Linked DNA regions of Homo sapiens: all the other regions are linked to region 1. Evidence: promoter capture Hi-C in 16 types of primary human blood cells and fetal thymus (Javierre and others, 2016). All regions are on one chromosome and are shown on one strand. The core of a region is centred on a gene start or on the middle of the fragment in contact, and the rest is flanking DNA. Distances in the headings are between cores, read along the strand shown. Region 1 holds the start of CD82-AS1 (CD82 antisense RNA 1). Region 2 overlaps LINC02696 (long intergenic non-protein coding RNA 2696). Region 3 has its middle 18 kb from the start of LINC02696. Region 4 overlaps LOC105376652 (a long non-coding RNA gene). Region 5 has its middle 3.7 kb from the start of EXT2.

What was found. The method cuts DNA at HindIII sites, captures the fragments that hold promoters and counts their contacts. A CHiCAGO score of 5 or more calls a contact.
Region 2: a contact is called between a fragment that was not itself captured here and the fragment with the promoter of CD82-AS1 in region 1, in 5 of 17 cell types (total CD8 T cells, naive CD8 T cells, total CD4 T cells and 2 more). The highest score is 6.9, in total CD8 T cells.
Region 3: a contact is called between a fragment that was not itself captured here and the fragment with the promoter of CD82-AS1 in region 1, in 6 of 17 cell types (total CD8 T cells, naive CD8 T cells, naive CD4 T cells and 3 more). The highest score is 8.2, in total CD8 T cells.
Region 4: a fragment that was not itself captured here is called in contact with the fragment with the promoter of CD82-AS1 in region 1 in 1 of 17 cell types (neutrophils); the score reaches 5.9 in neutrophils.
Region 5: a contact is called between a fragment that was not itself captured here and the fragment with the promoter of CD82-AS1 in region 1, in 3 of 17 cell types (endothelial precursors, naive CD8 T cells and total CD8 T cells). The highest score is 6.3, in endothelial precursors.

The regions. Positions count from the first base shown.
Region 1 is chr11:44,603,770-44,606,700 of GRCh38, forward strand. CD82-AS1 (CD82 antisense RNA 1) reads right to left here and starts at 1,568. Exons shown (of 2, transcript NR_182290.1): 1 at 1,249-1,568; 2 at 739-961. CD82 (CD82 molecule) reads left to right here. Exons shown (of 10, transcript NM_002231.4): 5 at 1,289-1,413; 6 at 1,586-1,660. The HindIII fragment of the contact is 7,514 bases long and covers 935-2,931 here.
Region 2 is chr11:45,355,475-45,358,405 of GRCh38, forward strand. LINC02696 (long intergenic non-protein coding RNA 2696) reads left to right here. Exons shown (of 2, transcript NR_120558.1): 1 at 1-128; 2 at 922-1,183. Among named protein-coding and RNA genes, the nearest start is that of LINC02696, 1.6 kb to the left of the region's middle. The HindIII fragment of the contact is 6,359 bases long and covers 1-2,931 here.
Region 3 is chr11:45,335,819-45,338,749 of GRCh38, forward strand. No RefSeq gene overlaps it. Among named protein-coding and RNA genes, the nearest start is that of LINC02696, 18 kb to the right of the region's middle. The HindIII fragment of the contact is 3,103 bases long and covers 1-2,931 here.
Region 4 is chr11:45,132,768-45,135,698 of GRCh38, forward strand. The region is part of intron 3 of LOC105376652 (a long non-coding RNA gene); the gene reads right to left. It also overlaps a transcript of PRDM11 not described here. Among named protein-coding and RNA genes, the nearest start is that of PRDM11, 12 kb to the right of the region's middle. The HindIII fragment of the contact is 7,917 bases long and covers 1-2,931 here.
Region 5 is chr11:44,090,480-44,093,410 of GRCh38, forward strand. No RefSeq gene overlaps it. Among named protein-coding and RNA genes, the nearest start is that of EXT2, 3.7 kb to the right of the region's middle. The HindIII fragment of the contact is 585 bases long and covers 1,157-1,741 here.

The DNA.
Region 1 (2,931 bases), core at 318-2,817:
TCCTGACCTCTACCTCCCGGAATGGGCCTGTCCACAGGTAGCTCTAAAGAGGGTCTTAGCCATCAGGCCCATTCCTGTACCTCCTAAGCATCATTTCCTCCCGGGCTTCTTTCTTGCTCTCACTGGTCCGTTCTCTCACCTTCTTTCCAATCTTCAAATAACCAAGCTCCTCCTTCCTCAGGCCTTTGCACCTGCTGTGTTCCCTGCCTGGAATGCTTTTCTTACAGATCTTTGCTTGGCTGACTTCTTCATTCATGTCTTGGCTCAAATGTCACTGGCTCAGGCTGGCCTTCGTCGACCCATTCTGACCCTCTCCCAGCCCAGCAGTTCTCTGCAGTTAGCCAGCTTTGGTATCTTCATGGCGCCCAACACAACCAGAAAACCTGTATTGTGTACTTTTTGTCTCCACTCCCCACCCCCAAATGTCAGACCTTGTTAGTCACTCTTCTGCATCCCCAGCAACTGGCACAGTGCCTGGCATGAAGTGGGCACCCAGTAAACATTTCTTGGCCGAATGAACATGCAGCACACCTGTAGCAATACATGTGCCCCGTGCATCAGTGGAAAGAGTGTGGCACTGGAGATTTGCATATTTTCAAATTCCAGCTCAGGCCCTTGCCTGTTCGCCTTTCTGAGCCTCATTTTTTTCTTCTGTGAAATGGCCATGCTAGTGCCTGCCAGGCAGGGTGATGTCAGAGTTGGAGACGGCGTGTGGAAAGCCCATGAGGCACAGTGAGTGGGCAAGAAAGGCTGGTGTTTGTTATTATATGGACAAGAAGGAAGGCGGGTTAAAAATCAGCTTGGAATCTTAATGTCAGTGGCCCCTGGAGAACCAGCCAGCCTCTTGTCTGTCAATTCCGCAGATATTCACTGTGCACAGCACCTCACTGCGAGAGGCGCTGTTCGAGCTGGGGGTTCCCCAGGAATAAAGTGAAGCTTCTGCCCTCATGCACCTCAGGTCCTTGGTGGAGGGGGAGAGCAGACAATGAGCAAGAAGAATCAGTGAAATGTAGTCTATTCAATCCTGAGAAGCCTTACGAAGTAAAAAATAAAGCCGGGAAGGGGCTTAGGCTGGATGAGGGTGTGGATTGCAATTTTACTGGGGGAGGGACACAAGTGGGGATGGGGGTGACCTGGTTCCCTGTTGGGCAGTGAGAAGCCAGCAGGGGAATGCAGCTGACCCCAACACCCTGGCTCCAAAGAGGGGATCCGGAAGAAGACCTGGACGGTTAGGCCAGGTGTTTATACCTGCTGTGCCCACTGATTTTGTACTTCTTCTTCCCCCTAGAAACCTCCTCCAGCTCGCTTAGGATGGGGGCCTATGTCTTCATCGGCGTGGGGGCAGTCACTATGCTCATGGGCTTCCTGGGCTGCATCGGCGCCGTCAACGAGGTCCGCTGCCTGCTGGGGCTGGTGAGTACGGATCCCTCCGCAGCTGCCTGCCCATTTCCTCTCATCCAGCCGAGTGCAGCCTGACCGCGGCGCTGGCCGTAACATCGGGTGGAGAGCATCTCTCGGGGCACGCAGGCTGGGTGCACCTGGTCGGGGACCCTCAGCTGACTTTGTGCCTGCTCTGTGTCCCCAGTACTTTGCTTTCCTGCTCCTGATCCTCATTGCCCAGGTGACGGCCGGGGCCCTCTTCTACTTCAACATGGGCAAGGTAAGCCCCTCTCTCCCTCCCTCTTCACTGGGCTGGACCAACCATGGGGGTGATTGACTGAGTGTGGGGGATGGACAAGGAACCCCCCCAGTTGTCACAGACAGATCCAGTAGGTGTCAGGGACGGCCTCCTGGACACTATTCCTTGTGATCAAATGGGGGAGCGTTAGAAGAGAAGGCGGCAGGTGTGGGCAGTCCCCGCTGGGCCTGGATCTTAGCCTGACCCCCCTGCTTTCTAGCTGTGTGGCCTTGGGCAAGCTGCTTGCCTCTATGTGCCTGTTCCACCATCTGTAAAATGGAAACAATAAGAAAACTGAACTCTCAGAGTGGTTGCAAAGATTATTCGAGATTATCTGAGTGAAACACATAGCGCATGGCACCATAAGTACTCAATAAATGTTATTCTTGTTATTATTAAGATACTTTAGCAACTATTAAATCCATGCCACTCACCCACAAATGAGGTTTAGAAGGAGACCGTTAATAAAAACATCAGTCTTGTGTCCGAGGGGAGATGTTCAGCTTTCAGAAACAGAAAATCAGACTTACAGCGGCTTAAAGTTGAAGGACATCTGTGGTTGACTTGACCGGAAGTCTGGTTTGGAAGCTCAGAGGCCCTGGTTCTGGCTGTTGAGCATCCTCGCTGGGATGGCTTTCCTGCATTATGACACTTACCTCGTGGTTCCAAGATGGCTGCCACAGCACCAGGCACGATGTCTGTGCCGCTGTGGCCTGAAGATGGGGAAGTGGGCAGTGCCAGACATGGCCATCCCTTTTATCAGAAAAGGCGCAGTGGCTCATGACTGTAATCCCAATACTTAGGGAGGCAGAGGTGGGAGGATTGCTCTGAGACTAGCCTGGGCAACATGGTGAGACCCCATTTCTACAAACAAATTTTTAAAAATGCTAGCCATGGTGGTGTTCACCTGTGGTCCCAGCTACTCAGGAGGCTGAGGCAGGAGGATCCTTGAGGCCAGGAGGTTGAGGCTACAGGGAGCCATGAAACAGAGCTTGGGGCAACAGAGTGAGACCCTGTCTCAAAAAAAAAAAAAAAAAAAAGTCCTCCAACAGACTTCCCCAGACTGGGTTACAAAGCCACCCCTGGTTGCAAAAGAGGCTGAGAATGTGAGTATCCAACTTTCAGACTCTAAAGACAGAGGCACAAGAGAGAAAGGAGCCAAGAATGGCTGTTGGGTGAGCCAGTTAATTGTGAGTCACAGTTATCACGTAAGAAGCACCTACTGTGTGCACGTGGGATCTTCTAGAAACTTT
Region 2 (2,931 bases), core at 129-2,628, 750 kb after region 1:
CTGTTGCCCTAGCGCCCCTTGGAAGCCAAGAATATGAGGAAGTCTTCTTCCTTCGCGCCTTCTTCTTCCTTACGCTCCAGGGCAGCCTGACAGAGCCGCTCGAAGGCTCTGCTGGCCGCGGCTAGCCGGTGAGGAGGGTGGGGGGAGGGGCCGTCCCGCGTGTGGGGGAGTCTGAAGGCGACCAACGAGAGGGAGGGCCGGAGCGGGGAGGTGGCTCGGAGGCATGTCCAGTAAATTGGGGATGAAAATCCTCCCAGGAACCCGATTATTAATGGGTTGAGGGAAGTGGCAGGTGCAGCGGTTGCGCAAAGACAATGATGCTTAGTAGCCAGGACTTCATGGCCACAAAATTTGTGTGTAGAGAGGGCCACAGCAGCCTGAAAACCATTTTCGTCCCCTTTTAGGTTTACCCATTCCACTGGACCCAGCCACCACCCACTCCTGCTGTCTGGTAAACTTTCCTCCTGTTTCTGGGGCCATGTCTGGCATGAAGAGTTTTTACTGAATAGTTTTCATTGATCGCAGGCCAGTTCTCTCTTCTCACCCCTTTATTGAAGTGACAGTGAAAATCTAAGTGAGAAAGCACTGTTACAGGGGCTGAAAAGGCTACAGGAGACCAGAGCCATTGACTTTTATTTTTAAAATGAAGATCTCTTTTACTTGAAGGAACTTAAGAATTTTGGCATTCAAATAGGGGCTGGAAGACTTGAAAGCAGTAGAAATTTCACCACAGGTGATAGGAAAGGATGATCACGAAATGAATATCTCCTGACTTGCACACCTAGTGAGCAGAGCCAGGAAGGACCTCCTTCACCTTAGCATTTGGAACAGGCTGCAAAGTTCATTCTTCCTCATAGCAGCCCCTGCATTCAGTTTGGTTTAGTTGTTTTATGTGGTTTCTAGCCTGATTTTTTTTTTCAGGGTGCAGCAGAAGTCTCAGGTAGCTGAGAAGTTCATGGAATCTTCTTATTTGCTACACCTTTCACTACTGCTTGTGATATAGTGCAGGGTTGGGATGTGCAGACATTTCTCAAGTGCACTGTGTACCTACACAGCATGCTGCAATTTGGCTACTGAAGTCAAGAGAAACTGGTTTGAACAACTACTGAGTGTAACATAGGAAGCGCATTTCATTTGATAACAGGAACACAGCTTTTGTGCTAATAAAATGCTTTGAAAATTAGTGTGTGGTCTTTAGTAATTAGCATATACATTTTAGTTATCCATTGGTTCATAACAAACGGACTAAATAGGTACCCCACTGAGTCATTTATCTAAATGAAAAGTTTGGTTAAATTGTAGTTGTAGGCATTGATCAAAGCTAATGGGAAAAAGAGATTAAGATGAAAATCATGGGATTAAATTTTTAATTAGTTTGCCCCTTGGACCGTTGCTTGGTATGACATGGAGATTGATTGGCTACTTATGCCTGCCTGGGAAGATATGGCTCTGCTACCAAACCTCTGAACGTAAGAGTGTTTTGCAAAAAAACTGAATATTTTATTCAGTAATTTTTCACTTTATTCCTGCTTAACAAGGAATTGAAAAGGAAGGCAAGGTCTTGGATCTCATAGTTCTTGGTATAGTGATAGATATAAAGTATGAGATGGGGGCTTCAGTGGGTTCATTAATAAATATCTCAAATTAACATGTCTAAGTCAAACTCTTCCTTTCCTGCCCCCAATCTCTTCCTCTCCCAGGGCTCCTTATGTCAACTAATGGTGCCATCATTAGTGCACTCAAAGCAAAAACCTGGGAACAATCTTGATTCCCTCTTTCATTCCCCACAGCTCACCCATCAACAAATTCGATCCGCTTTTATTCTAAAATATATCCTAAATCCATTCACTGTTCTTATCTCCACCACCCTAACCCAGGCATCATCATCCTTTACCTGGTTAACTGCAAGATCCTTTTCATTTAACTTCCCTGCTTCTAATCTTCTGACCCATTTTCACCATCCCAGTCCATTCACCACACAGTAGCAGCCAAAATATTTGTTTAAAATGTAAGTTAGATTCTATCACTTTTGTGTTTAGAATTATTGTCTTCCCCCACTAATTACTGTGCCCTATGTGATCTGGACTCAATCTGGTACCACTCCCTACCCCTTCACTCACTATAATCCAGACATACTATCTTTCTTTCTTCAACCTGCCAAGTTTTATCCTGCCTTAGGGTCCTTGCACTAGCTGTTCCCTTTGCTGGAACCCTCTTCACCCAGTTATTGCAGAGCTGGCCCTCTCTTGTTTAGAGCTGAATTTCAATGTGACCTCTTCAAATAAGTCCTCCCTTGACCACCCAAACTCATGTACCCCCTTGTTACTCTCTGTCACGTCATCCTGATTCAGTTTCACCACAACACTCATCATTACTGCTATTTTCTTGTATCTTCCTTTGTTTATTGACTGTCTCCTCCCATTAATATGTAAGCTCCCTGAAAATAAACATCTTGTCTATATTGTATGACTGTATCCCCAGAACTTCAAATAGTCTGTGACATATGAATGAATGAATGAATGAATGTACGAATGGATTCTGCTTCCCCAAAGCTGCTGCCATCTCATCTCAGGTACATTGAAACAGGAAGGCTGGTAAAGGCCAGGGGGTCAAATGCTACATAGAGTGGAGCCTGAAGCACAAGATGTGGGCAAAGACACAGTGGAGAGGGGCAAGAAAAGCATTTGGGATGGAGGGCAGAGGGTCTGGGAAGGAACATGGAAATGATATAGAACAACTCTACAGATATGTCCTAGACATCTTAAGACTTGTACAAGCATGCGTGTGCCCGCACATACACACATACCAGCTTGAAGAATCTTGTCTCAGCACATGCTCTGTACTTGAGTCTTAGAGAACACTTTTCTTGGTAGAGATGTTTAGGCTTCAGCATTAAGGAGTCTGATTCAGAGGTCTAGGTAGGGCCCATGT
Region 3 (2,931 bases), core at 286-2,785, 730 kb after region 1:
CCCCCCAAAAAAGTCCATTAAGTATTTAATAAATACATTTTAATAGATCTCTGTCAGCATGAACTTGCTAATGTGGACTCTGTTGCCTGCAACCAAGGACCTTGGCCTTAACCACACATAAAGCATTAGATCAGTTCCTGGCACGTGGCAAATCCTCACTATATATTAGCTACCATTCTGTATTATTTGAATGCTCTACAAAGAGATGGTACATCTGCTCTTATTTAGCAAGCATAGGTGTTAGAGTTCATCAATTTCTTTCAAAAGGAAGTGAACGCGCACATTACTCTCCCCTGGGAGTGCAAAACTCAATCCTGCCAACTCAAGGTAAACTGTCACTGTCAGGTGCTCTCAAGCTCTGTCAATTAAGGCTCCTTCCCCTCTGTCCTCTCCAGGCATTGGTGGTGTGAGGGGCACTCCCCTTCCCCTCATCTAGTTCCCTCCTACGGAGCATCCGAGGTTGATGTAATTTGCCAGGCCTGTGTATTGATGTCTGATATCATCTGCATTCACTGCTGTCACAGCCACTGCCACTCTGTCTTCCCTCATCAGGTACCTAAGCGTCTGCACCCCCTGCGTCCCATTGCTAGGCCTCTCCAGGTTCACCCACCAGCTTTCTGCCATTTCTATCCCTCCTTGAGGATTTGGGGATGTGAGTGTTTGAGGCCCTCTCATTAACAGGTCCATCACAGGAGTCCTCACCTGGCACAGTGTGGTGGCACAGTGTCCACCACAGCTTTTCCTGGGCAGAGAGGCGCAGGTCTCCTCTGCTTCACTGTCTCCCACCCACCCGCATCCCAGGCTTTCTCACAGGTCCCTGGCATCTGTGGGTTCTAGTTCCAACCCTTCGATCCTCCTTCCACCTCCCAAAACTGAACTTTTGTCTCCTTTTGAGTAGGAACTTTATTCATTTACTATTGAATATTCTTTCCTACTCTATGGTGTGGTATAAAATCTATGCTGTCAGTCCCCCAGACTACCTTTTTTACCTTAAAAAACATGTTTTCTTCTCAAGAACAAAGTCCTGGCTTTTTCTAAATGTATTCAAGAATTTCTTCACCAAATATTGTTGGAACACTTGCTGGGGGGGGGCAGACACTCTCTGGGTTGTACGGACAGACAGACAGTTGCCTTCCAGTTGGGGAGATGGGCGATAATCATATGCAAAAGTCAATTGCCTAATTTCTTTTTTTTTTTTTTTTTTTTGAGACAGAGTCTCGCTCTGCCGCCCAGGCTGTAGTGCAGTGGCGCTATCTCGGCTCACTACAAGCTCCGCCTCCCGGGTTCATGCCATTCTCCTGCCTCAGCCTCCTGAGTAGCTGGGACTACAGGTGCCCGCCAACACGCCTGGCTAATTTTTTGTATTTTTTTTAGTAGAGACAGGGTTTCACCGTGTTAGCCAGGATGGTCTTGATCTCCTGACCTCGTGATCTGCCCGCCTTGGCCTCCCAAAGTGCTGGGATTACAGACGGCCGTCAATTGCCTAATTCTTTTCTTTCTTTTCTTTTTTTTTTTTTTTTTTTTTTTGAGACAGGGTCTCACTCCTTCACCCAGGCTGGAGTACAGGGAATGGCATCATCATATAGTTCACTCATAGCCTTGAACTCCTGGGCTCAAGCCATCCTCCTCCCTCAGCCTCCCAATCAGCTAGGACTACCTGTAGGTACGTGCCACCACACTTGGATAACTTTTATTTTATTTTATTTTATCTTATTTTATTTTATATTGTGTAGAGATGGGGTCTTGTTCTGTTGCCCAGGCTGGTCTCAAACTCCTAGCCTCAAGTGATTCTTTAGCCTTGGCCTCCCAAAGTGCTGGTATTACAGGTGTGAGCTGTGGTGCCCAGCCACCTATTTATTTTCAATAGAGCGAATGCTTTGCTGGAGTATTAAGTATAAACTATACTTTATATTCAATATTCCAGCAAAGTATTTTATATTGAGTATAAAATGCTGAGTATCAATTTTATATTGAGTATAAAAAGGGGTAAAGTGACAGAGCGCTGGGCAGTGGGAAGGGGTAGTTATGAAACAGACTCACTGTGCGCTAGTTACCACTTCAACCCACTTGATCTTGGGTTGCACGTTCACTACTTGCCCAAGTTCTGTGAAACAGAACACTGAAATACACAAGTTACATGAGGAAATACACAAGTTATTACTTATAGATAGTCAGCAAGGGACAGCAGCAGCCTAGAATTCATGAGTATCAGTCTCCAAGCCTCAGGAAAGCTGCCCAGATGGAGTCTTGTCTGCACATGCCCCACTTGCACCACAGCTGCGGAGCCCTGAAGGCAACCAGCCCTGGGTTTTAGACCACGGGGTACAGGACTTGCTGGGTCAACGCATTGAAGGACACCTTGTTTCTAATAGTGACTGAAGCAGAGCCTGGCCTGCTCAGACCAGTCCCGCCCTATTCCAGATGTTGCATTTCCAGCACATTACACAGCGATTCTTGGGAGCTATGACAGAAAAGAGGGAGAACTGGGTCGGTCCACAGCCATCCAGAGAATGGTCTTGCAGTAGTGCTGCATTGAGTCAGATATCCAGGAAGGCCTGGTAGACATTTGAACCCCAATCTAAGTGCCAAGAAGAATCCCCCGGAGAGGGATCAGGTCAATGCCTCCAAATGGAACAGCAAGAGCAAGAGCCCCGAGAAAGAAATGAGCTTGGCCTTGGTCACAGATAAGAAAGAAGGCCAGCGGGTTTATTGAATGGTGAAAAGAGAGTGAGCAAAGATGACCTCAATGGGTCACTGGGCCAGATTTCGCAGCACCCTTTTAGCATGCATGGAAGCTGTGGATTGTTTTGTTAAACCCTAGAAGATTGAAGTAGAGAAGTTATTTGCATTTTAAGAAAATCATTTTAATTATAGAAAAATGGTTGATTATAAGAGGGCAAAAAAGCATGGGCGAGCAGGGAAAAGGTAACT
Region 4 (2,931 bases), core at 111-2,610, 530 kb after region 1:
GCTTACTCAAGGTCACCCAGCTACCTAGGGAGAAGACCCAAAGATAGTGATTGGCGCTTTAGAAATCCTCTGATGAGTATACTTCTCCAATTCCTAAAGCCAGCCCAGGGACAGCAAAGATTGAGCAAAACCCAGGAAAATACTGATGGCTCAGCCATCTTGCTGTGGAAAGAGGAGCAACACCCTGCTTAAGAATGTGCCACACATACCCCATCCCCATCCCCATCCCCAAATTAAAGTAAAAGTCCTCTTTCTGGTGTTACCTCTCTGCTGTTAACCTTGCCTTCTCTGCCAGCTGCATTCCCATAAGCTGGAAACACATCCAATTTTCTCCCAACCTTTAAACAATAAAAATATTTAACTCTGCCTTCTCTTTCTAACACTTTTCATCCAAATAGCTCAAAAAGATAATCTGTGCTTTCTTTTTCTAATTCCTTACCTCTCATTTTCTCCTCAACTCATTCCAATCTGCTATACCACTTCCATGGGGTAATACCACTAAAATTGTTCTTGTTAAGGACATAAGTGACTCCTATCATGAAATCTGAGGAAATCCTTAAGTTCTTATCTTACTGGACCTCCCTGTTGCATTTAACCCTATTGTCCACTTTCTCTTTCTGAATGCTCTGCTCTCTTGGTTCCCAAGATGACTTGCTTTCCCCAATTCTCATAACTTTCTGGCCATAACTTTTTCTTCATAGGTGGGAAGATGGATAAAGACATATTTCTGATGATATTGTTTTAACAGCTTGATCCAGCCATGCCTGAAGCCTGACCCAGATTTTTTTAGTTATAGGAGCCAACACGTTATTCTTTTTGCTCAAACCAGTGTTCGCTGAGTTTCGGGCACTGGCCAGTGGAGCTCAGCACAGCAGTGGAATCCTCTCCCTTGGTAACTCCTTCCCTTCTTCTACTGGCATGTGCAGCACTAATGATAGTACTAACTAGACACAGATCCCCAACGGGCACATAGTGGAGGCTAGACATACAGTTAGGGAGGAGTAACTCAAGAATGGCAAATTTGGATCCTCCAAACAGAGCAGCTTGCCTCAACATACACCCCAGCTCACGGGTCTCATTTGATGCAGAGAGCAGGCTAAACCAAATGGATTTTGCCAGCTAAGCACTGCCACAGCCATCAGCACTGTTTGAGATGGGCCCCCAAATGCCAATCTGCTTCCTGGCACAGGAACCCTGAAGGGCAATCTCTCTGCCAGCCTTTGCCCTCTGCAGCTGGGTGAAGCTCACCTAAGACTACCCTACATCTCTATACACCCCCAGAGGGCAAGGCACACATGGGAAATCAATGACTCACCTACACAATTGCTGGGAAAGCTCACATCAGCTACCAATGGTGATTAGGCGAGTCCTTTGTTTAAAAATGGGAAGAGACAGTGAAAATTTTCTGGACATGCAAGGAGAGTGAGTCAGTGGCCTGAACTGAATACTCGGACCAAATAGCTCATGCTGAAATAGGGTTAATGCAGGAGATATAGAAGAAAACTTTAGTCTTACGATCATGTTCCTTGAGACTCATAAGCGTACTCCCCGACAAAATAATCTCAGGCAGTTACAAAAAAAGTTATAGAGACTAGTATAAACTTGAGTTCAAAACTAACAAAGCCCACTCACACAAAAACTTAGAATAGCAGACAGGTGTGGAGGCACAAGCCTGTAATTCCAGCACTTTGGGAGGCTGAGGTGGGCAGATCGCTTGACTCAGGAGATTGAGACCAGCCTGGGCAACACAGCAAAACCCTGTCTCTACAAAAAATACAAAAATTAGCTGGATGTCGTGGCACGTGCCTGTAGTCCCAGCTACTTGGGAGGCTGAGGTGGGAGAATCGCTTGAGCCTGGGAGGTCGAGGCTGCAGTGAGCTGAGATTGCACCACTGCACTCCAGCCTGAGCAACAGAGTGAGACCCTGTCTCACGAAAAAAAAAAAAAAAAAAAAAAAAAGAATAGTATTTCAACATTATAATTAGCCACACATTTTTTTTAATTTTTAAAAAATGTATAATAGCAATTTGATGCAGCAGCATATTAAGGAAGAACTTGACATATTTTATCCTAGAAATTCAAAGATGACTTAATAATTATCAAATCCTATAATGTTTTCCATGTTTGCAAATTATTGCAGAGCAATAATCATTACATCTAGAGGTTAATATGGAAAAATAGGTGCTGATACTGATAGATACAAAAAAAGGCATTGGTAAAAATTCCATTTTAGCTGGGCACAGTGGCACACAGTTGTAGACCCAGCTACTAGGGAGGCTGAGGCAGGAGGGTAGTTTGAGCCCAGCCTGGGCAACATAGTGAGACCCCATCTCTAAAAAGAAGAATCCAATTTTAATTATACTCTCTCTCTCTCTCTCTCTCTCCTACTAAAATAGGAATAAAAGGACATTTCTAGAATGTAATGAGATTATCAGAAGGCTGCAGGAAACATCATGAAAACAGGAGAAAACCTGCCTTAGCAAACAAGAATGCTTGCTGTCTCCATTCCTAATCATTGTTTTGGAGCTTCTAGCTAATGCAATAATATAAGAAAATTAACCAAGATTCATAAATATTTTTTAAAAGGAAGGCACAAAGTAATTATTTGCATGAGATACTCTTGTCTACCAAAAAAGTCCCAAAGAATCAACTCAGAACTAATGAAAACAATATGTGAATTTAGTAAGATAGCTGGTCAGAATATACATTTATAAAAATCAATAGCTTTCCAAATCCTAGCTTTCCAACAGCAAGGACAATTTAGAAAATAAATGTAGTTGAAAAAGATCTTACTCACAATAGCAGCAAAAACTATCACGTACCTAGAAATAAACCTAAACAGAAATATGTTAGGTTTATAAGAAGCAAACTATAAAACTTCACTGGAGATCATAAAAGAAGACTTAAATACGATGGAAAAATGCACCAGGT
Region 5 (2,931 bases), core at 199-2,698, 510 kb before region 1:
TGTATTTTTAGTAGAGACAGGGTTTCACCATGTTGGCTAGGCTGGTCTCAAACTCCTGACCTCAAGTGATCCACCTGCCTCAGCTGCCCAAAGTGCTGGGATTACATAGGCATGAGCCACCATGCCCGGCCCTAGTTTTTAAATTTCTAAATTATTTTTCTAGTTTTATACAGTCAGTGTTTGTTTTGATTTACCCACAGGTTTATCAGTTTCATTGTTTCCCAGCCCTACTTCATTGCAGTACTTCCTTTTGGTTTTAATGTTTTCCTTCCTAACATTCTTAAGAAGTTCCTTTAGGAAGGATCTACTGATGGTAATCTCTTTCTATTTGTATTTGTCTAAGATATCTTTACTTCCCTGTTATTCTTCAAAGATGGTGTTATTGGGCATACAATTATACATCATTAACTATTGCCCTCTCAGCCTTTTTACTATGATTTTTTGGCTTTAGGTTTTTGTTGTTGAGAAGTCTGCTATTAGTCTCATTGTTAGTTCATTGCAGGTGATCATCTCTGCTCAATTTTGGAAAATTCTTAGCTATCATCTCCTTGGATATTACCTTCACCTCCTTTTCTCTATTCCCTCCTTTTAGATATGTGCCATTTTCTTCATCTCTCCTCTCCCTCTCTTAACTTCTCTTTCCTATATTTAATTCGTTTCCTGTCTTTCAGATCGATCGTTGTTGTTTCTAACCTACTATTTAACTTATGCATTGACTTTTCAATTTCAATGTTTATATTTAGTACATTTTCAGTCTCCTTGGTCTTTTAAAAATATAACATCTTATTTCTTTGTAATGTTTTACATTTCATTTTAAGTCTTTGAGTGGTATAAACATACTTGTTTTATATTTATGTATCATAATTCAATTATATGTAGTTCTTGGGGGTTAAATTTCTGCTGTTTGTGATTTCTGGTGGTTTGTTTTCTCATATGCTTTATAGTTCTGCATTGTGAGTTTACATTTGTCAGGGTTTTATTTGTCAGAATCCTAGGTAGCTTGTGTTGAGGATGTGGGTCTCCAGAGGGGATTTATGTTTCCTTCTGTTGGATGTCTTTGGGTGCTACCAACCTGGGAATACTGTATGTTACTATCCTGGCTTGGAGCTTCCTAGACCATGCTGGTGGTATAAATTCAAACCCCAGATGGTCATAAAGCTTGATTGCTATGAACTGAATGTTCATCCCCTCCCACACCTCCTTCATATGTTGAAGTCCTAATCCCCAGTGTGATGATTATTGGAGGTGGGGCCTTTGGGATGTAATTAGGTCTTGAGGGTGGAATCCTCATGAGTAGGATTAGTGCCCTGACAAGAAGAGACACAGAAAGGTCTTTTTCTCCACCATATGAGAATATAGCAAGAAGGTAACCCTCTGCAAACCAGAAAAAGAGCCCTCATCAGGAACCAAATTGGCCAGCACCTTGATCTTGGACTTCCTAGCCTCTAGAGCTGGGAGAAATAAATTCCTGTTGTTTAAGCCACCCAGTCTGTGGTATTTTTGTTATAGCAGCCCGAACTGACTAAGATATGCGTGTTAAAGATCATCAGTGAGACTCTCTTCTTTTTCCATTCCCTGGACAAGACAGGTAAGTTTCTTTGGTGGATGTTGAGCAAATTTTTTCCAGTATTCCCTGTTGGGTGTAATTCTTTAAGATCCTAGCTTTATGGGTTTCTTTGTATCAGCTTCCTGCCTTGTATGCCCAAGATAGTTGTAGCTTCAATGTCATTTCTATTATTTAAGCTTCATTTTTGACTTTGGATGTTTTCCTTCCTTTTTTTTGTGCGTAAGCTCAGCTATTCACTTGAGAAGGTATTCCTTATATTTCACCTGGTTAGGTGTTTTTTAGCCTACCATGCTGCCTGCCAGTGCTGTTTTAAGCTGAGCCAACCTAAGGTCCCACAGATCAATTATATTATGGAGCCCTTTTCTTTAGAGAATATGCCTTTTTCCATTCTTGGATATCTCTGTTACAGTAGACTCTTGAATAATGTGGGGGTTGGGGTGCCAATCCCCTAAGCAGTTGAAAAATGATGTATAACTTTTGACTCCCCCAAAACTTAACTACTAATAGCCTTCTGTTGACTGGACACCTTACTGATAATGTAAATAGTCTATTAAACATATTTTATATGTTATATATATTAAATACTGTATTCTTACAATAAAGTAAGCAAGAGAAAAGAAAATGTTATTAAGAAAGTCAGGAGGAAGAAAAATATATTTACTATTCATTAAGTGGAAGTCATAACGATCTTCATCCTCCTCATCTTCATGTTGTGTAGGCCAAGGAGGAGAAGGAAGGGGGGTTGGTCTCACTGTCTCAGGAGTGGCAGAGGCAGAATAGGTAGCAGAGGTGGAAAGAGAAGCTGGAGAGGCAGGCACACTTGGTGTAACTTTTGTTGAAAAAAAATCTGCACAGCAGTGGATCTGCAAAGTTTAAACCTGTGTTGTTCAAGAATCAACTGTATTTAGAGGAAGTGCTAAATATGGGATTCAACCCTACACCAGCTCTTTCTCCTAATTGGAAACTCACTTTCCCCTGATGACACTATTTTCCACGAAAGCCATTCCCTTTCTAATCCTGACTTTCATATTTCCTGACTCACTGGGTAAGGGGGTATCTGTGTAATCTTTGCTTTGCCCTGTAACTTCAAATTCAGTAAAGCAGTATCTTTCTACAACCTCTCCTCCTTCAACCACCAGCTACTAAGACGCTTTTCTGCCTTCTCAGAAACTTCAGGTCCTGGCTTATAATTTATTTCCCACTCCTCCCTGAAGTCATCCTTGGATACTTTCGCATCATGTAGCTTCTAATTTCACATCTTCTATATTTTCCCACCTCCCTCACTTGCATGGTTTCTATGCCTAGAAATGTAGCCACACTGGATTGAAAAACACTTGCTCTTTCTGATTGCTTTTCCTTCTTTA